Linked DNA regions of Homo sapiens: all the other regions are linked to region 5. Evidence: promoter capture Hi-C in 16 types of primary human blood cells and fetal thymus (Javierre and others, 2016). All regions are on one chromosome and are shown on one strand. Each heading gives the region's core, a stretch centred on a gene start or on the middle of the fragment in contact. The rest is flanking DNA. Distances are from core to core; before and after follow the strand shown.

Evidence for each region. The method cuts DNA at HindIII sites, captures the fragments that hold promoters and counts their contacts. A CHiCAGO score of 5 or more calls a contact.
Region 1: a fragment that was not itself captured here is called in contact with the fragment with the promoter of HSP90AB1 in region 5 in 1 of 17 cell types (fetal thymus); the score reaches 5.1 in fetal thymus.
Region 2: a fragment that was not itself captured here is called in contact with the fragment with the promoter of HSP90AB1 in region 5 in 1 of 17 cell types (fetal thymus); the score reaches 5.2 in fetal thymus.
Region 3: a fragment that was not itself captured here is called in contact with the fragment with the promoter of HSP90AB1 in region 5 in 1 of 17 cell types (fetal thymus); the score reaches 6.7 in fetal thymus.
Region 4: a contact is called between a fragment that was not itself captured here and the fragment with the promoter of HSP90AB1 in region 5, in 4 of 17 cell types (M0 macrophages, M2 macrophages, M1 macrophages and 1 more). The highest score is 6.4, in M0 macrophages.

The regions. Positions count from the first base shown.
Region 1 is chr6:44,181,768-44,185,798 of GRCh38, forward strand. CAPN11 (calpain 11) reads left to right here. Exons shown (of 23, transcript NM_007058.4): 20 at 1,174-1,252; 21 at 1,352-1,468; 22 at 1,938-1,996; 23 at 2,139-2,634. The coding sequence ends at 2,165. Among named protein-coding and RNA genes, the nearest start is that of CAPN11, 25 kb to the left of the region's middle. The HindIII fragment of the contact is 4,304 bases long and covers 1-3,474 here.
Region 2 is chr6:44,147,129-44,151,045 of GRCh38, forward strand. TMEM63B (transmembrane protein 63B) reads left to right here. Exons shown (of 24, transcript NM_018426.3): 12 at 249-372; 13 at 1,124-1,257; 14 at 1,385-1,522; 15 at 1,664-1,817; 16 at 2,731-2,837; 17 at 3,096-3,182; 18 at 3,436-3,501. Among named protein-coding and RNA genes, the nearest start is that of CAPN11, 9.7 kb to the right of the region's middle. RefSeq lists an enhancer at 2,042-2,211. The HindIII fragment of the contact is 2,889 bases long and covers 704-3,592 here.
Region 3 is chr6:44,129,728-44,134,102 of GRCh38, forward strand. The region is part of intron 1 of TMEM63B (transmembrane protein 63B); the gene reads left to right. Among named protein-coding and RNA genes, the nearest start is that of TMEM63B, 4.4 kb to the left of the region's middle. RefSeq lists a silencer at 1,434-1,593 and enhancers at 3,438-4,375, 3,826-3,995. The HindIII fragment of the contact is 482 bases long and covers 2,627-3,108 here.
Region 4 is chr6:44,335,931-44,340,311 of GRCh38, forward strand. No RefSeq gene overlaps it. Among named protein-coding and RNA genes, the nearest start is that of SPATS1, 4.5 kb to the right of the region's middle. The HindIII fragment of the contact is 1,726 bases long and covers 2,213-3,938 here.
Region 5 is chr6:44,244,628-44,248,802 of GRCh38, forward strand. It overlaps HSP90AB1 (heat shock protein 90 alpha family class B member 1), which reads left to right and starts at 2,474. Exons shown (of 12, transcript NM_007355.4): 1 at 2,474-2,568; 2 at 4,003-4,149. The coding sequence starts at 4,003. RefSeq lists enhancers at 776-1,530, 2,285-3,039, 3,524-3,573 and a silencer at 1,734-1,973. The HindIII fragment of the contact is 5,727 bases long and covers 1-3,210 here.

The DNA of each region.
Region 1 (4,031 bases), core at 73-2,572, 64 kb before region 5:
ACAGACACAACCACACCACACACACACATACACACTCACATACAGACACAACCACACCACACACACACACACTCACATACAGACACAACCACACCACACACACACATACACACTCACATACAGACACAACCACACCACACTCACACACACATACACACTCACATACAGACACAACCACACCACACTCACACACACACATACACACTCACATACAGACACAACCACACCACACTCACACACACACATACACACTCACATACAGACACAACCACACCACACACACACATACAGACACAACCACACCACACACACACACACATACACACTCACATACAGACACAACCACACCACACACACACACACATACACACTCACATACAGACACAACCACACCACACTCACACACACATACACACTCACATACAGACACAACCACACCACACTCACACACACACATACACACTCACATACAGACACAACCACACCACACACACACACACATACAGACACAACCACACCACACACACACACACACACACACACACTCACATACAGACACAACCACACCACACACACACATGAAAAGGGTCTGTTGGAGTGTGGCATATTACCCAGTCAAAATATTTTATAACAAGTATAGCTCAGGTATCATCTAGTCATGAAGGATGCACACAAAGAGCGCTGGGCAGGGCACCAGTGCCCCCGACAACCCATGCTTGGAATTAACCCTTAGGTCACCAGATGATAGGAATATCAGGAGTGGGCCAGGGTTGGAGGGGGGCATGGGGTCTTAGGCCACTGCTGTGAGCCAACTGTCCTAAAGTATTTCTTTTTCTTTTTTTTGAGACGGAATCTCACTCTGTTGCCCAGGCTGGAGTGCAGTGGTGCGATCTCTGCTTACTGTAACCTCCGCCTCCTGCCTCAGCCTCCTGACTAGCTGGGATTACAGGCATGCACCACCACACCCAGCTAATTTTTGTAGTTTTATTAGAGACGGGGTTTCGTCATGTTGGCCAGGCTGGTCTCAAACTCCTGACCTCAGATGATCCGCCTGCCTCGGCCTTTCAAAGTGCTGGGATTACAGGCATGAGCCACCGCGCCCGGCCTCAGTATTTCATTATTTCAACCACCATGCCATGCATGTGGCCCTACCATATCTGTCTGTCTCTTCAGGACATCTTCAGAGAGTGTGACCAGGACCATTCAGGCACCTTGAACTCCTATGAGATGCGCCTGGTTATTGAGAAAGCAGGTGGCCAAGGGTCAGGAGTGGGCCTTGGGGCAGGGAAGAGGATGGCAGTGTCCAGAGGCCCAGACTTTTCCCCTCCCCACTTCTCTCTCCCTCTCTCAGGCATCAAGCTGAACAACAAGGTAATGCAGGTCCTGGTGGCCAGGTATGCAGATGATGACCTGATCATAGACTTTGACAGCTTCATCAGCTGTTTCCTGAGGCTAAAGACCATGTTCAGTGAGTTAGGCATCTACCCACTCCCCAGCCTAGGCCAGGGGCCGCGGGCCCTTTCCCAAACACCCACCCTGATGGGTGCTGCTCCAGATCCCCTCCCCCTTACAAGGCACACATGAAATGGATTCAAAGCCCAGCTCCGCCACTTGCTGGCAGAGGTGACTTGAGCAAGTCACTTAATCTTTCTGTGCCTCCATTCCCTCCTCTTTAGAATGTGGATAATAATAGTACTGCCCTCAAAGGACTGAGGTGCAGGTTAAACCAGTTAGTCTATGGAAGGCAATCAGAACTGGGCCTGGCTCCTGGTGAGGCTATGTGAGTTGCTATCATTAATTCCCCACTTGGCTAGGGGATTTATGTGGGGAACAGCCAGGAACACCTGGTGTCGCCCCTTCCTACCTAGTTGGGAGTGGTTCTTTCGGAACACTGACTTAGCATTCAGCCCCTCTCCCCCGCTTCCTCTGTAACGCAGCATTCTTTCTAACCATGGACCCCAAGAATACTGGCCATATTTGCTTGAGCCTGGAACAGGTACTTGGAGAAGGGTGGGAAGGAATCTGCAGGATTGCACCTGCCTGCCCCTCAACCCCACCCCCACCCAGCTCTGATGTCCCCGGGCCAGCATCCTGCCCCCGTCTCTTCCCACCCTGGGATCTGCTTCCTGTCTCCACAGTGGCTGCAGATGACCATGTGGGGATAGAGGCGCTGTAGGAGCCTGGTCATCTCTACCAGCAGCAGCAGCAGCGAGGTTCTAGCCCAGGAGGGTGGGGTGCTTCTTGTAGCCCTCAGCTCTCCGGTCTCTGCTGATGAAATGGGCTCCAGGTGGCAGTGCCCGGGTCCCAGGTGCCGTGTTTACTGCAGCAGTGGGACCTCCGTGCCCACTCCCCCAGCTCAGAGGCTTTCTCTTTTTTCCCCAACCCGGCTTCTGATGGCTGGCTTTCCCCCACCATCGCTCTCTCAGAGTATATTTTACTAAAGAGTAGTTGATGCTTCCCCAGGGTCCCCCTGGCTGGGGAGGCCAAGAATAGGGAAGGGACTTGTAGCCCGTTTCTTACCCTCCATGCTTGCTGTCCTGCTCACACCTACCTGCTGACCACCCATCCTGGCACAGCCTCTGTTTTCCTCCCCATCTGTGGATACTATTCTAATAAATAGCACATGCCATTGGCTTCCATGTCTCTGTGTTTTTATGCCAAGAAAAGACTGGCAAGGGTGGAAGTCACTTACCCAGGACCAAAGGATTGGGTAGCTCTCAGCCAAGGGTGATAGGGAGCATATAGAAATGTGCAGTTGTCACAATAACTAGAGGCCATAGTTGGCGTTTATGGGCAGTGCCAGATGCTAAGCACACAAGTCCCTCCCTGTGAAGAACTGTGTGGTGTGCCCTATGGTGGAGCGCTTCTACGGGGGCTGAGCCAGGGCTCCAGGACTCTCATCTGCTGCTTCAAACTGGGGTCCCCAAAGGTGGCACTGCAGGAGCCTCGAAGGTTAAAAATCTGACACCTGCAGCCAGCAGGTCACATAAATGAACGAACTGCCGGGCGCGGTGGCTCACGCCTGTAATCCCAGCACTCTGGGAGGCCAACGCAGGTGGATCACCTGAGGTCAGGAGTTTGAGACCACCCTGGCCAACATGGCAAAACTCCGTCTCTGCTAAAAATACAAAACTTAGCTGGCCGTAGTGGCACGCGCCTATAATCCCAGCTACTTGGGAGGCTGAGGCAGGAGAACTGCTTGAACCTGGGGGGTGGAGGTTGCAGTGAGACAAGATCATACCACTTCACTCCAGCCTGGGTGACAGAGCAAGACTCTGTCTCAAAAACAATTTAAATAAATAAATGAACAAATCCTCCTCGTGTGGGACTGGGAAGGCTGAGGACTGTGGCAATAGGTGAACTCGTTCCTGCCTTAAAGGTGTTCAGATTCAAATCATTATTATTATTGTTAGAAATTTGTTGCCTGTCCACTTACTAAAACCTCCCTTAACTATCCTCCACCTTATCCAGAGAAGCTTCTTCTTTTAGAAAATCAAGCAAAGCAACTAAGTCAAGACATGTTAAAAAAAAAAAAAGTATGAAAAGAAAGCTGTAAGGAAATACAAGGGGAGGGATTGTTAGATATGAGTTCTAAATTTCTTTTCAAAGAATTAATATGTCAGTATGTTCAATTCTTTGCCTTCTATTTTTAAACTTCACTTCCTCGTAAAGCAACCTTTTCAATTACCTATTCCACCCTGACTCATTCCGATCACCTGCTCCACCCTAATTTATTCCAATCACCTGCTACCTGCTCTGCCCTGACTCCCACCAAAGCACTCACCCTGTCAGTCTCTTTAAATTAGTCAATCAGAATTAGTTTAGCCTGTGCGGTCTAACCCTAGCCAATAGGGGAACGACACAGCAGCAGGGGCCACGTGCATCAGGGATAAGAACCCCTTCCCCTCCCTTGTCCAAATGTGTGCTCACCATTGTTCCATCTATAAGGGCGCACGCTTCTATATAGAAGTAACTTGCCTTGCTGAGAATTAAAAAGAAAATTAAAAAAAAAAAAGAAATTTGTTGCTTGT
Region 2 (3,917 bases), core at 898-3,397, 98 kb before region 5:
CATGGTCCCCACTGCATCTGAGGACATGCCCTTCTTTGGCTACAGTATGAGAAATTTAGGTCAGCCTGCAGGAAGAACTTCTGGCCCTCTAGGGATGGGTGGGGAGACCTTGGGATGTGGCCACATCTGAAACATGTATCCTAAACAAGAACAAGACAGCTCCTGTCCTTGGGGAGTGAGCTAGATGACCCCCAAGCTGAGCCAGCCCCAGCCCCAGATGTAGGTGACCAGGCATCTGGGTCCCACAGGAAGAAGGCCGAGCGGGGAAAGCTGTACTTCACAAACCTCCAGAGCAAGGAGAACGTGCCTACCATGATCAACCCCAAGCCCTGTGGCCACCTCTGCTGCTGTGTGGTGCGAGGCTGTGAGCAGGTATGACGCGGGCTGGCTGTTGAGTCGGGAGAAGTTGGACAGGTCCTGGGCAGGCAAGGCTGGGGCCCTGCCCTCAGTGAGTCCCCACCTGTCCCTGGAATCCTTGAAGCCTCAGTTCCCACTGTTGGGTTTGTCTAATGTCCCTACAGTGACCAGGTTTTCAAACCTCAAATTAGAAAATGTCAGCCAAAAGGACAATGTTGTGCTGTACCCACTGACTCTGGGGACTTGAGCAAGTTGCTTACTGCTCAGTGCCTCAGTTTCCTCATGGGGTTAACGTACCCACCTTATGAGAGTGTTGTGAGGGTAAAGTGAGTAATACATATAAAGAAGCTTAGAGGTGCTGGGTGCGGTGGCATATGCCTGTAATCCCAGCACTTTGTGAGGCTGAAGCAGGTGGATCACTTGAGCCAGGAGTTTGAGACCAGCCTGGGAAACATGGCAAAACCTGATCTCTACAAAAAATACAAAAATTAGCCAGGCATGGTACTGCACACATGTATTCCCAGCCACTTGGGAGGCTGAGGTGGGAGGGTCACTTTAGCCTGGGAGCTTGAGGCTCCAGTGAGCTGAGATTCCACCACTACACTCCAGCCTGGGCATCAGAGCGAGACGCTGTTTCCAAAAAAAAAAAAATGCTTAGAGGAGCAGTGCCTGGCTTGTAGGAAGCCCCAAGTCAGCGTGGGCTGGATGCTGCAGGCCCCAGCCTGGCTTTCCAACTAGAGGCCCTGTCCCTAACCCTCCCACAAAGGTGGAGGCCATTGAGTACTACACAAAGCTGGAGCAGAAGCTGAAGGAAGACTACAAGCGGGAGAAGGAGAAGGTGAATGAGAAGCCTCTTGGCATGGCCTTTGTCACCTTCCACAATGAGACTATCACCGCCATGTGAGTCCCCAACTCGGCCCTCGGCCCTGAGCAGCCCTCCAGGGCTCCCTGACCCCTGTGCTCATGGCCTTCTGCCAGCAGTGTGGCCTCCAGGTGGGCCTGTGGTAACCAGTGCCCATCTTTCTAGCATCCTGAAGGACTTCAACGTGTGTAAATGCCAGGGCTGCACCTGCCGTGGGGAGCCACGCCCCTCATCCTGCAGCGAGTCCCTGCACATCTCCAACTGGACCGTGTCCTATGCCCCTGACCCTCAGAACATCTACTGGTGAGCAAACAGGTGTCAGGGCAGGCTTTCCAGGGCCTGGGATGGGCTCAGTAGGTAGGCGGAGGAGAGGGAGTGTCTTGGTGTCACTGGGGGCCAATCCTGCCCTTGGTTCCTGGACTGACCGGTTCCCCACCTTGCCAGGGAGCACCTCTCCATCCGAGGCTTCATCTGGTGGCTGCGCTGCCTGGTCATCAATGTCGTCCTCTTCATCCTCCTCTTCTTCCTCACCACTCCAGCCATCATCATCACCACCATGGACAAGTTCAACGTCACCAAGCCTGTGGAGTACCTCAACGTGAGGCCTCATGCCCCTGTCACTTTCCACGCTGGGTCACAACACACAGATACCAGGCCCTGATCCCTCTTCCACTTGCCCAGCCCAGCCCGTTCTGCTTGTTCCAACCCCGTGCCACCAACCAGCTCCCAAAAACCCCTGTGTGCACTTCCCTTGGGCTCCCTGCCACCTTCCCCCTGAGAGAGGCCACCCTCAGGTGTGCAACACCTGGAGAAACACCCAGGGAAGAGAGAGAGCCTGCATTTAGTCCTGATCTCAGAGAAGTCCCCTTCCCTCACCCCTCAGTCTAACTGAAAAAATGGAAAGGTTCAACTAGATCAGTGGCTTTGGACTTGGATTCTGATCTCTTTATCGGTGTGAAACCCAGTGTGGAAAAGCAGGGCTGCTCCGATGACAGTAGGGTGGCATGCATGTCTGCCTGGCCTCCCCTCACCTCTCCTCCCACGCATAGAGCATACCTCTTTAGAACCTCAGAGTTTGAAGAAGGACAGTTTGCAAATCACTTGGAGTGATAATACCATAATAGATAAGACCCAGACTGCATGGATTCAAATCCCTACCTCATGGCTTGCTAGCTAGGGAAGCTATTGAATCTTTTTTTTGCCTCAGTTTACTCATCTGTCAAATGGGGTAACAGCATTATTGTGAGGATTAAGACATGGCAAGTACATCAGCACTGCTTAGAACATAGTAGATGTTCAGCAAATGCTGACTATCAGTATTATCCACCCTGGGGTTATACATATGGCCCTGGCCCCCACCCTCACCCCAGCCCTCCGGATGTTCTGGGCTTCCAACATGGGAGCCCTGAGAGTTGTGAGGCCAAGGGCCCAGCTGGGGAGGAGGCACATAAGCAAAGCCACCTGGGCCCCCTAGACTGCCCTGCCTGACGCCCCCCTGTGCCCTGCTGCAGAACCCCATCATCACCCAGTTCTTCCCCACCCTGCTGCTGTGGTGCTTCTCGGCCCTCCTTCCCACCATCGTCTACTACTCAGCCTTCTTTGAAGCCCACTGGACACGGTAAGGTGCCTCCACTCACACCACACCTCGCTGTGGCCTGCCCTCAATGACCCATCCTCTCTGGGCAGCACTTTGCCCTTCAGGCTCCTGGCCCTGGGCAGTCCCACAGCTGGTAGGGAAGGGGTAGTGCCCAGCACCCTCACCTTGGGAGGCCCACCCTTCCCAGGGGACACTCCTTGGACATTGTCCTTGTTGGGGGAGCAAGTCTGGGGCCTGGGCTCACTTGACCTGTACCGTTCCCTGCTCCCCTCCCTCCAGCTCTGGGGAGAACAGGACAACCATGCACAAGTGCTACACTTTCCTCATCTTCATGGTGCTGCTCCTACCCTCGCTGGGACTGAGCAGGTGAGTTGAGAAGGATGGGGCAGGAGCCAGGGTAGGGGGACAGCAGGATAGGGAGAGGAGAGCAGTTCAGCCTCCCTACCTCCCCTACAAAGCAAGGGGCCCAAGATGGGAAGCCTGGCCACCCCCAGGCCTCCTGAGCTACCCACCCCATGTCTGGGAGTCTCCCCAGTGGCTCACAGAGGAGGGACTTCCCCTCCCCTGGTGTTCTGTACCACTCCAGCTCCCACCCCATCTCTCCTCTGCTTCCCTCCAGCCTGGACCTCTTCTTCCGCTGGCTCTTTGATAAGAAATTCTTGGCTGAGGCAGCTATTCGGTTTGAGTGAGTGACTGGGGCCCCTAGGGAAAGAGACCAGACAGCAGGGGTGGGTATGCTTGAGAGACATTGCCAGCCCCATGGGAGGGTGCAACAAAGCTTCCAACTCCTGGAGGGGGCAGAAGAGAGAGGATCTGGCGGGGTTACCCCAAAGGCACCCACAAGGTGTCTTGGGTGTGTATACATGGTAGAAGTCCCTGGGGTCTGTGTTGGTGTTCACTCTCTGGTAACCTGTTTGGATGCTAAGATCATCCTCAAGGTATATTTGGGGCTTGGGGCTCCACATTCTGGTAGTTTCTATGGGGGTGTCTTGTGCCCATATTCTGGGACTAACTGTGGGCGTCTCTGGAGTTCCACTTGGGAGGTTTGGGGAACCATCTCTAGGGAGGTCTTGGTGATACTTAGGGAGTGTCTTGGAGGCT
Region 3 (4,375 bases), core at 1,618-4,117, 110 kb before region 5:
TTGTTTTTACCAATTTTCTTTCTCTAAACCAACCCCTTTTATTCCATACCTTATTAATAACAATAACTAATTCCTAGAGCCCATTATATGCCTTGAACTATATTAAGAGCTTTACATAAGTCATCTTGTTTAATCCCCAGAACAACAACACAACTGGATTATTGTCCCATTTTACAAATGAAGAAACTGAGGCCCAGGGTGACTAAGTAATTTTCCCAGGTTAGAAGCCTGGTCTGTCACATCCTAGAGTCTGTGCTTTTAACCACCAGACTATGGTGCCTGTCCCCTATGCCTGCCTCAGAACCTGAAATCACAAACCCAAGGCCTGAGTGGAGGGAAGCTACAAGCAAGAGGAAAGGCAAGCAGGTAGAAATAGGGTATGGCATTTCTCCAGTGTGGTAACTGACTGCCTCCGGCTCCCTGGTGGAAGTGGCTCTTGTTTGCAGATAACTCTGCAAAGTGCAGTGGTTAAGAGCATACACTCGAGCCAGGCAGCCTGGGTCCTTATCTGGGTCTACCACAGACTGGCTGTGTGACCTTGAGCAGCTCATATACTCTCTCTGTATCTCAGTGTCCTCCTGGGGTTGTGATGGGGAGCAAATGAGTTACATTTGTAAAGTGCTTAGAACAGTGCTTGGCACAAAAGAAGAGTTAAATAAACATTTAATACTATTATTTTACTACTTTTTTTTCTTTTTCTGTTTTTCTTTTTTCTTTCCTTTTTTTTTTTAGACACGGTCTCTGTCTGTCGCCCAGGATGGAGTGCAGTGGCATGATCTTGGTTCACTGCAGCCTGGAACTCCCTGGGCTCAGGTGATCTTCGCACCTCAGCTTCCGGAGTAGCTGGGACTACAGACATGCACCAGCATGCCCAGCTAAATTTTGGTGGTGGGGGGTATCTTTTGTAGAGACGGGGTTTTGCTATGTTGCCCAAGCTGGTCTCGAACTCCTGGGCTGACGTGATTCTCCCACCACAGCCTCCCAAAGTGCTGGGATTACAGGTGTGAGCCACCATGCCTGGCTTTTTTTTTTTTTTCCCCTCGAGACAAGGTTTTGCTCTCTTGCCCAGGCTGGAGTGCAGTGGCATGATCATGGCTGACTGCAGCCTCCAACTCCTAGGCTCAAGGTATCTTCCCCACTTGGCCTTCAAAAGTGCTGAGATTACAGGGGTGAGCCACCCCACCCTGCCTACTACTACTTTTTTTTTTGAGATGGAGTCTCACTCTGTCGCCCAGGCTGGAGTGCAGTGGCATGATCTAAGGTCACTGCAACCTCTGCCTCCTGGGTTCAAGTGATTCTCCTGCCTCAGCCTCCCGAGTAGCTGGGACTACAGACGCATGCCACCACACCCAGCTAATTTTTGTATTTTTTTAGTAGAGACGGGGTTTCACTGTGTTGGCCAGGCTGGTCTCGAACTCCTGACCCTGTGATCTGCCCAGCTCGGCCTCCCAAAATGCTGGGATTACAGGTGTGAGCCACCGTGCCTGGCACCTACTACTACTTTTATGCTCACTTGTGGATATATTCTTGCCTTTCTCTCTGAAGTGGGTAGGGGTAGAGTAAGGATATTTGTATCTCTTTGTTACAGATTGGAAGACTGAGACTCAGGTTTCGTAGTAACAGAGCTCGCTTCCATCTTCCCCTCCTCCCCTCAGACCACATGGCCTTGCTTTGATCCAAAGCCCTAACTTAAATCTTGCCCAGTAACTCCACTGAAAAAGCTTATATCACTCCTGTAATCCCAGCACTTTGGGAGGCCGAGGTGGGCAGATCATGAGGTCAAGAGATCGAGACCATCCTGGCCAACATGGTGAAACCCTGTCTCTACTGAAAATACAAAAATTAGCTGGGCGTGGTGGCATGTGTCTGTAGTCCCAGCTACTCAGGAGGCTGAGGCAGGAGAATCCCTTGAACCCAGGAGGCAGAGGTTGCAGTGAGCCAAGATCGCGCCACTGCACTCCACTCTGGTGACAGAGCGAGACTCCGTCTCAAAAAAATACACAACAACCCCCCCAAAAAAAAGCTTATAAGTTATAGCTCTCCAACCCCCACCATGCACACACTCCTTAATGGTAAAATTAAAAAGTTAGCTAGAAGTAAAATGCTCCATCACTCTCTGGACACACCTCAACCAAAACCTCAATATCAGACTAGAGAAACTGGGATATAGCTGGTGCAGGCACCTCGTGGAGTGGAAGAACTGCCACCTCCCATCCCCAAGGTATTCTGCCTCAATGTCTTCCCTCTTCTCAGTTGCTCAGCCCAGTGCTGGCTTTGAGAGCAGCTGCCCTTGATGAAACTCAACCCAGCAACCCCACCCCCACAATTAAAAGCTTGGAGCAGCCCTGTCAACTGGCAGAGCTGCCAGCCCAGGCTCCACCCCTTACCTGTCCTGTCACTGTGCAAGTTGCTTCCCCTACTGGGTTCCTGCTTCCTCCCTGTAAAATGGGGATAGTGATCTGAGTGTGCCCTGCCTTCCTCCCATGCAGGTGGGAAGATTAATGCTGTTGTGGAGGGGAGAGTACTTTGTGACCCCAAGGAGGCGGACAGCAGAGGAGCATGGTGATTTCAGTTACTAACCATCTAGCTAGATCCTGTCCACCCTGCTGGGGCCACTTCATGTAGAAGCTTCCAAAATGCTCTACCTTTCTTTGGTGTGGAGAAGACAGGAGTTGATAGGAATGGTACTCTGGGGCTTGTTCTCATTTCATTCTGATCTGATGGAGCCTTGGAATTCAGAGAGAGAAACAGGCAAGGGGTGGGAATAGAGTGTTGAGATTGCTGGAGTACATTGGAGTTGAGAATTGAGAAAGGGGGACTAGTTAGAGTCCCCCCAACCCAAGATACCTATACCTACCTTTAACCTCCCATAGTGCCCCAGGGTTCTGTGCATCTTATGTTTACATACCCGGGCTCCCAGACACACCCATGTTCACACCCCCACTTCGAAGCCAACAACTCCCTTCATTTCCGTGGACTGCCATGCAGTCACCTAGCTCCTCCTGGACACAGGTCCACACATCAACACACATTTACATACCTGGACACACACATTTCCACAGCACCCACAGGTTCTCTGGCCTGAGAACATTTAATGAGCATTTATAAAGCTTCCATGGTCTGCCGAGTCCTGTTCTAGGAACATCAGAAAAGCACCGTGGTGCCCTGAAAATCATTCTAGCTTTAGAAAGAAGGTGAGCTAGGTTTGAGTCCTAGGTCCCTCATTTTATTAGCAGTGTGACCTTGGGAAAGTTACTTAACCTCTGAGGCCCTGTGCCCCCACCCTAAAATGTCAGTGACACTCAATTCAGGATCGTCGAGGATTAAATGAAATCATGTAATATATTATTCTTGAAACTGAGGGCACTGGACAAATGGTACCCAATACAATTACTAAATTAGTGTGTTTTTAAAGGCAGCTTGGACTGGAAAAGGAAGAGGCATAACACACCAGCACACACTCCTTTAGTCTTCCTAATCCAGGCTTTGCAGAGACTCCCTGGGACCAAGTGAAACACATAAACAACTCCATCCTCCCCTCCATCTGAGGGCTTCTGCCTCTTGCCCTGTGGTTGAAGTGTTAGGAAGAGGCAGGAGAAACCCTCTGAGTCCCCCTGGGGGCTAAGGGATGCTGCTCCCGAAGTTGCAGTCACTGTTTCTAGTTTTGTTGTTCTCTTTGGTTTTCCTTTTTCTTCCCTGAGGACCTCCTCCCCTGCTCCACAGCCCGCCCCCGAGGCAGAGCTTCAGTGTTGTCAGCAGAAGGGTCCCCCAGGGACCCCCCAGTAAAATGGGTGGGGCAGTGCTGCATCTGTTGAGGCCACACTTCTCCGCTATCCTGGGATCCTCCCCAGGGCCCCACTCTGCTCTGTCCCCAAGCACTTTGAGAACCCAGGCACTCAGGCTGGCTGTCCCTTTTCTCCTCCTGCCCACCCCATCCACTCTGAGCATCAATGCAGCCGGCCAGTTGCAGGCAACCAGGCAGCACCCTGGCTGCCCAGGCAGGCTAAGAGGCCCCCACCCACTCCCCCCTCCTTTGCCAGTGGAAAAGCTTGCCGTAGGGCATAGCTTTCCCAGCCTTCCCTGCTTCAGAGGCAGGAGCATGGCACTCTGGGAGTTGTAGTGCTCATAACACTCAGGCGATCCCTGTGCAAATAACTGGAGAGAGGACTATGGTATGGGGAAGAGAAATGAGAATAAGCAGGAGTGGCTGGGGCCAGGCAGGTAACTCAAACCCAGAAGTCCTACTATTTACTTGACTTCCTACTCTGACCCATCGTCGAACCTAAGCCAGTTATATTGAGTTCAAAACTCTAACCAAATGAAATCATGCCATTTTTTCTAATAGGCATAGAAAGAAAAGATCAGGATGAGGCAG
Region 4 (4,381 bases), core at 1,826-4,325, 92 kb after region 5:
ATGGATCATATGACCTTCAACAAAACAACAGCTGGGGCTTTTTAAACCAGGAAGATCCTGCCATGCTAACTTGCATTTCTTTTCCTAACCTACCATAGAATCTTGCCCTAGTTCTGCCTTGCACTCTTTTTTTTAGGGGAGAATTTCCAAGGCCAATGAGCTCCCTACCTAGCCATTTTTGCATTTTTCTTAGAGTTTGTGTGGAGAAGCCCGTCTCTCTCAGGAGGCAGTCTTCCCCATTGTCTTCTAAAAGCTGGCCCTTCTGGAGGGTTTCAGTCTGTCCCTGGTCCTGGTTCAAATCTGAGTGAAGATGCAGGAGGATGTAGCCACCCTCCTCTCAGAGTTCATGATGAGCACGGTAAGGAGATGATCTCACTTCTTCCCCAAGAACCTTTAGCTCTTTAACAACTTGCAAGAATGAAATTTCTTCTATTGGTTTCTCTCCTCCACTCTTCCCCAAGAGAACAAGCCAAATACTGTACAGGTCCTCTTGCATCAGAGTTGAGTGTTTGTACTTCTTTATTATATAAATCAGTCATAGAAGGAATTGCTCTTCATAACAAAAGCACACAGTTATTGACTTCCTACCATGTGCCTGTCATTCTAAGTGACATGTATTTATTCATGAATCCTCTCAACCTTATGAGGGAAGTACTATTATGATCTCCGTTTACAGATGAGGAAACTGAGGCTCACAGGGGCTGAATAACTTACCTAGAGTGGACAGCTGGTAAGCAGGAGTGGCAAGATTTGCGCTCGGGAAGTTTGATTCTGAAGACTGCGCTTGTTCTTATAACGTCATAATGCTTATTTTCACAGTATTGGCTGGGTTGAAGACCACAATAACATTTATTTGCTTATTTTTTCTGCAAAAGTAACAAATATTCAGCAATGTTCAGAGATTTGGCAGCCTCTTAATAGGCTCCAGTAATAGTCTGGCCTTCTGTGGATGAATGTTCGTTCTCTTTAGAATATGGATTATTTAATGCCTCTTCGTCTCCAACTTGGAGCCCCAGGTACCAATTTCAGGCACCAGAAAAAGTTCATTCAACTTCCTGTTGGTAGGCCAACATCTCCCACTCTCAGCCTAGCTGAAACCAGCTTAACCATTTCTTTTGCTAACCCTCTTTCCTCTCCAGTTCACACAGAGACCCATGTAAAATTAGATCTATTTTTCCAAGACTTGGTGTCCTCAGGCCGTAAGTCTTGGGGTTGTCTTTGCCTCCTCTGTTTGGTTGGCTTCTCATATCCATTAAGTGCCTTCTGCCTGGCCCTCTTCCTCAGACAGCAGCCTTCCCACCTCATCAGACTAATCTCCCTAGAGCTCTAGGGTTCTACTAAGAAAGAAATGGCACCCTCCAGCTGAGTAACTGCAGGGTATAATAAAGGCACTATTTACAGAGGTGAAGGTGGGGTTTAGGAAAAGCAGCAGGGAATGGGGCAATGCCTCAGGGCTGTAACAGCTGGGAGTCACTTCTATTCCTAGGCCTGCAAGGTCCAGGGAAGGAAGCAGTCAGTAGTCCCCAAAGAGAGCTGTGTGGAGCCCACCCCTGACAGGGGCCGTGGCCCTAAGGGGAGGGGCATAGACAACTGAGGCCAACAGGACAGGAGCTAGGGGTTGAGGGGTAAATACCCTGACTTCACTTCCCTCCCTGCCTTCCTCTATGGGATTTGGGGGTGCCTCTATGGGATTTGGGGGGTGCAGTCCACATAGGCCAACCTCCCAGGCAGGCACAAAACAAGGTGGAGACAGTGGGAGTGGACCTGGGAGGGATACAAGGATGGGCAGCATATGCCATTTTTGCCTCATCATTCCTCTGATGAGAGATCTGCAGTGACTTCCTAGTCCATATTGGGTTAAACCTCATATTGAAGGAATTCCACTTCAACCTCACGTAATTCAGCCTTTTCCTTTCCTGTTCTGTAGAGTATAGGCATTCCACTCACAGAAGCTGCTGTCCTTACTCTGCATGTCTGTTTTATATATTACATAGGTTACACACATTTTAAAATCTTAGTCATTGATTTATGTTACTCAGAAATCCAAGTCCAAAGGGACTTTTGTGTTTCTGGGACAAGCGTCCTCCCAGGCCTCTCCCAGGCGGTCTGGCAGCCTAGGATGTAGCCCTGACAGCCTGGCCAGTACTGAGATGACAAACGGACCTGCTCATTGCTGAGGGCACATATAAGAAGGCTCTGGCACAGTGGTGAAAGCTTAGGCTCTGAATCTAAAGAGACTGGATTTAAACTCCAGCTTTGCCAGTTACGGTGGTGGGATGAGTTACTTCTGCCTTCTGAGTCTGTCTTTCCTCATTTGTAAACAGAGGATGATTCTACTAGCACTTCACTGTGGTTGGGATTAAATGAGATAAACAAATGTAAAGAGATGGGCAAAGCTATCAGGGGAACTCAGTCAGGGAAAGGACTGTGTTTTACTCACCTTTAAATTCTTGTACCTAGCACAGTGCCTGGAACATAGCAGGTGTCTGGTCATTGTTTCCTGGCCTGAACTGATGGGGAGGCCCTCTGGCTATTTGGGAGCTGGCCATGTTAGTCAGTTCTGAGGTAGCAAATGCTCTCTCTCCCCTATCTTTGCCAGGCTTCTTCTGCCTACCATTGAAGGGTTCTGACGGTGGCCGTGTGTCAGTAATCCACTCAACACCTATTTCCCTAGCGCTGTCTTTATACAAGGCTCTGTGATGCCCCTTACTTGAAGTCAACTGTAGACAATCTATGAGCGCATCCCGTTTTCCATACCTGGGTTTATACTGCCCTCTGGTGCACACTTATGGGACACGCGCGTTAAATGAGGGCTTCTGCTGGGTGACCTTTCCTTGACATTGGGGAAGAGAGGCTCCCCTATAGGGACAGCCTGCAGTGCTCTTTCGAGGAGAAGTGGTGTTTAAGACGCCCTCCTCACCCAGTTTAGCTTGTAGCTCTTGAGGCTTACCAAACTCGAGGCTTTTTTTTTTTTTTTACCAATGTCTCTGACCCTAGGCAATTAAATAATACCATCCTTCTAGGCTCAAGTTTCTTTCTCCAGCAGGCACTTTTTGTCCTGCCAAGACTCAAGAGGAATGGGGTAGAGTTTATTTGAGTTTATCTTTCTCCCTCTGCTGTCTGGTTTCCTCTAATCTCTGGGCTCTTGATTCTTATGGCTGCCCCAGCTGCTCTCAAGGGTCTGGGGTTGGGGGAGCCAGGGGAGAACCAGAACCAACGGTTCCTATCCAGTGCCTGGCCCCCTGCTTCCACCCCCGCCTCACTGTCTATCATTCCTTCCCAGAGACAAGCTCCCAGCTACTGAAAGCGAAGTGGGGTCCTTCAGGGAGAAGGAGCAAAGGGGAAGGGAGGGGGTTAAAGTTCAGCCCACCCTCCTCTGGCCTCACCATGAAACCTGCTAGAAGTATTTGTCCTTCATGATTAAGTTGAATAACATAAATTTGCTGATATGCAACTATGTTTCACCTACATAACCAGAAATTTTATATAGTTCAGTGGAAAACTTCACACGTAAACCCTGTGCGTGTTTGTGTTGGCCTGGAGCCCCAGGTTTCCTGAGCTCATTCAGACCCAGGAGAGCCAGGCTTGTGGAACATCAGGATCCCGGACTGTAAAGCTGAAAGGAGGGCCCTAAAGCTGGAGAAACAGTTGAGTTGACCTTAAGGACCTGGGACCACCGCCCCTCCCTGCATCAGGCCTCCATGTTCCTGCACAGGTGCTGCAGTAACCTCCAGGCTGGGCTTGGTTTGGGGTGCTCAGACAGGGGACGGCAAGGGAACACTGAGGAAGGCCTTCTTCTTGCCCAACTGTGCTCACCCTCCCGGCTATACAGGCAAGATTTTCTGGGACCTTCAGGAACCTCAGTCTTCTGGGGACATCTAGCATCCTCCCCTCGCCTCTGCTGCTGAACTCTGGTTGTGGGGCTGCTGTGCACAGGAAGCTTCAGGTGCCAATCCTGGGAAAACACTGGCTGTGCGTTGGGGCCAAGCTGATCAGAGGCAGCTCCACGGCCTTGAGAACACTTTAGCTGGCTCCAGTGCCTCGCCAAACCTTGGGCACAGCTGCCAGGGCAGGCCTGGTGCGACAGGCATCTAAAACTTGCCCAAGGAGTGAGGGCAAGGTGGCCTGGGAGGTTTTAAGCTGCAGAGTAAGGGAAGGCTTGTGAGTCACAGTTCACAGGACTCACTAAGGATGAGAAAGTTTCCCTTCTGTGATTCACTCGCCTGCCTTGCAAAATCACCTGACCAACAGATAGATCTTGATGTCTTGGAACCTGGTGGTTCAGGTTAGAAACCTGGACTCTTTCCTCCTAGGAGGATGCAAGCAAGAGAGGGAGGGGCTCAGCTCAGACCATTGTAATCATCCATCCACCCACCCACCC
Region 5 (4,175 bases), core at 1,224-3,723:
CACCAGAGTGGCCAGGCTGGTCTTGAACTCCTGACCTGGTGATCCGCTGGACTCGGCCTCCCAAAGTGCTGGAATTACAGGCATGAGCCACCGCGCCCAGCCCCCTTTTTTTTTTTTTTTTTTTTTTGAGACGGAGTTTCTCTTTTGTTGCCCAGGCTGGAGTGCAATGGCATGGTCTCAGCTCACTGCAGCCTCTGCCTCCAGAGTTCAAGCAATCTTCCTGCCTCAGCCTCCCAAGTAGCTGGGATTACAGGCATGTGCCACCACGCCCAGCTAATTTTTAGTAGAGACGAGGTTTTTCACCATGTTGGCCAGGCTGGTTGTGAACTACTGACCTCGGGTGATCCACCCACCTCGGCCTTCCAAAGTGCTGGGATTACAGGTATGAGCCACTGTGCCCAGCAGAGAAAGTGGAATTTCTATGCTGGTGTAACATTTGAGATTTTCCCATTTAGAAAGTCTTCAGGAAGCCGTCGAGTCTTGACACAGAAAGGATCCAGCTCAGGGGAAGCCCATCCACAGGAGTGATTCCTGCTTTGGATTTAGGTCCTAGGGGTGAGATCACATCCCTGCTCCATTTCTGGAGCAGAAAGGGAGCTAGTGCAGCAAGGACTCTGAGTAGACGGGCCTTGGGAGTCACTGAAGCCACTTCCCTGTTGACAGAATGTGCACACTGACTTTCATCCGCTCACAGGAGAGTGAGAGTTTGTGAATGCTCTCTGTGAACTGGGGAGCAGATTTTTAATGAGCTCTGCTTAGAAGGAGAGGACACGTTAAGGGATCACGCTCCCACTGGTTTGCGGTTTTGGTCAGGAATAGAGCACCCAACGCCCCTTCTTATAGACTTCTCCCAGCCATAGGCTTTTTGCAGACCATAATGAAAGGGAGAAAGGATATCCAATCGGGATGGTGATGGCAGGCATGGCGAAGTGGACAGGGACAAAGAAGAGGAAAGCAAGGGACACCCTTTGTTCTTTGGTATTCAACACATGAACAAAACTTGTTAACGAATCGTAGACTGGGTAACAACAGGGCTGGTGAGGGAGGACGATGTGGGTGGCTGTGGGGAAACTCTTCCCAAGCATCCCAGGGGTGGGCCAGGAAGGGGAGCAGATGGACATCTACAGGGCACAGAGCAGGGAGTGGCTATTCTCTCCTGGAGGGGTTGTGGGTCCAGCAGGCTTTCGGATGAGGCCTTGGAAAGGCAAGGACAGCTTGCCAACTGGAGGGCAGGCAAAACGGCTGAGCCAGGCCAGACACGGCAGCTCACTGGCCAGGGGCATGGCCTAGGGGCTCTGGTGCCAAGGCTGAAGGGGAACAACTTGGCCAGCCGCTCTGTGGCCGGCATCGTCACGCGGCCTCCAAGAGCTCCGGCTGCCCTGCACTGGTTCCCAGAGACTCCCTCCTTCCCAGGTCCAAATGGCTGCAGGAGCGAAGTGGGCGGAAAAAAAGCGAACCAGCTTGAGAAAGGGCTTGACGTGCCTGCGTAGGGAGGGCGCATGTCCCCGTGCTCCGTGTACGTGGCGGCCGCAGGGGCTAGAGGGGGGTCCCCCCCGCAGGTACTCCACTCTCAGTCTGCAAAAGTGTACGCCCGCAGAGCCGCCCCAGGTGCCTGGGTGTTGTGTGATTGACGCGGGGAAGGAGGGGTCAGCCGATCCCTCCCCAACCCTCCATCCCATCCCTGAGGATTGGGCTGGTACCCGCGTCTCTCGGACAGGTCAGAGCGGGTCGCCGGGTGGGGTCGCTGCAAAAACCCTGCCCCGGCCGCAGCCGGAGAGGCGGAGCCTCGCGGGGAGGGGGCGGGACCGCCGAGACAGGCCTGGAAACTGCTGGAAATGCCGCAGTGCCGCCGCCGCGCCTTCCGCCGCATGTCGGCAAAGAGTCCCCGCCAGCCCCGGCCGGCGCCCTCCCCCTACGCTGAGCTGCCCCTCAGCGCGAACCCTCCGCCCTTCCTCTACTCCTGCGAGAGTCGGGATCTGGGGCTACCCAAGGTTGGGTCCCGAATGCCAGTCCCTCTGTCGGGACGCGAGATGTGTAGGGCAGATGCTAGGAAGAAGATTGGGTCTGGGAGCGGTGGTCCGCGTGGTTAGCTGCCTCCGCTCTTTTTCGGTGTCCCCCCCAGTCCCGCCCTTGGGTGTGGGGACGCCTGCCCCACAAGTGTTTAGGGAGGTCAGTGGGTTCCTCGCCCGTAGAGACACCGTTTATGCCAAATGAGCACTCCTCATCCCCGCTCTTGATGGAGTCATGTCCTAGACGTGAAACTATGGGGCTGTGATCACAAGCAAATGTGTGGGCGGATCCGTTGCTTGGGTTCTTCCCCGCCCCCTCTTTTTTTCGGACCATGACGTCAAGGTGGGCTGGTGGCGGCAGGTGCGGGGTTGACAATCATACTCCTTTAAGGCGGAGGGATCTACAGGAGGGCGGCTGTACTGTGCTTCGCCTTATATAGGGCGACTTGGGGCACGCAGTAGCTCTCTCGAGTCACTCCGGCGCAGTGTTGGGACTGTCTGGGTATCGGAAAGCAAGCCTACGTTGCTCACTATTACGTATAATCCTTTTCTTTTCAAGGTAAGGCTGAGATCTCCGCTAGGCTTCTTTCCCTTTAGTGCTGTATTCGTGTTGTTTTTGTTTTTTTCTGTCCTTTAGGGAGCCTTAGTCTAGATGTCGGGGTGGCTTGTGGATAACGCTCTGGATTTTTATAGGGTGAGGGTAGTGGTGGGTGAGGTTTTTTGAGTCCTCCTCGGTTTTCTCTAGTGTGTTTGGGGGGTGGGGCTTTCTCTCGGCGCCTGCTGGCCGTAGCGAGGTGGGCTGTGGGGTTGGGGCAGTGGGCGGCTGGCAGCTGCACGTGGTGGCCGCGCGGCCCGGGACGCTGCCATTTTTGCCCCTCCACTTCCGGACGCGGCTACGGGGCGTCGGAGGGGGACCGCAGGGTGGCGGGGGTGCCCGCTCGGGTGACTCAGCACGGCCTTGTGGGACTGGCTTTGTCACCTCTCTTATCGGACGCGTTGTTAAAGCCTTCTTGGGTGCTTTGTTTCTGTGAGGGAGGGTTGACGGTGTGGGAAGAGAGCTTTCGGTCTCCAGCACCCGATACTCCCTCCTTCCAGATCTTTCTTGCAGTCCCGGTGGAGGAGGGGCGGGGAGGGGAGCAGGTTCTGGAAGATTCATGGGCTCCTTCCTCCGCCCTTCCTCGAGAGCTGAGATTGTTCTGGAAGCTTCTGGATTCTGGCGCCCCGCCCCAGTGCCCGGATGCTGGGGCGAGGGAGGGTGCACTGCGGCGCCCCCTCCTCGCGTGGTCCTGGCCGACGCATGTCCGGCAGTGACGAGTGTCGGCCTGGTGGCTACGGCCACCATCTTTCTTGGGTTTGGTCCTGTTCTGTAATTTTGTGCTGTGAAAGGGTCGTGGTGGAGCTTTTGGCTTAAGAATTCTTTGTCCGGATTTAATTGCTCCTCCGGTGGGTATCGTATGGATCCCAGGTTATTCCTCCCTGCCCTATGGGGCAGGAGTGTCCCGCCCTTGGACTGGTCTTAGGAACTGACACCTCAGGGGGAGCAGTTTAAAGTTAGTGCCATTTTTATCTTAAACTAGTCACTTTGATCTCCCCCAAATAAAGAACTGTAGGTAGTGATTTTCACATTTAAATTTGTGTAAGGATTACTTGGGATCTCTAGATACCTGGGTTGGACCAACATTATGATTTTTCTGCCATACTACCAGATGATGCTGAGGCTGCTGGTCACCATTCTTTAAGTAGGTGGGTTCTGTGACATTTGGTTGAAGAATATTTAGCTTATTTTCTTTTTCCTTCTGAATTTTCAGGCCTCCCACTTAGTGTGTAGTCTGAGATCTTTAAGAGAATGCATTTTTAGTCTTGGGAAGGGATAGTACTCCGGTTAAACCAGTCTGAACTCACTGTCTAAGGTCCTAACAAATGATATGACCTTTAGGATTTTTAAACATGGGGCCTTAGTGTTCTTTTGTAATTAATGAGATTTTTATTTTAGATGCCTGAGGAAGTGCACCATGGAGAGGAGGAGGTGGAGACTTTTGCCTTTCAGGCAGAAATTGCCCAACTCATGTCCCTCATCATCAATACCTTCTATTCCAACAAGGAGATTTTCCTTCGGGAGTTGATCTCTAATGCTTCTGATGTAGGTGCTCTGGTTTCCACATTTGG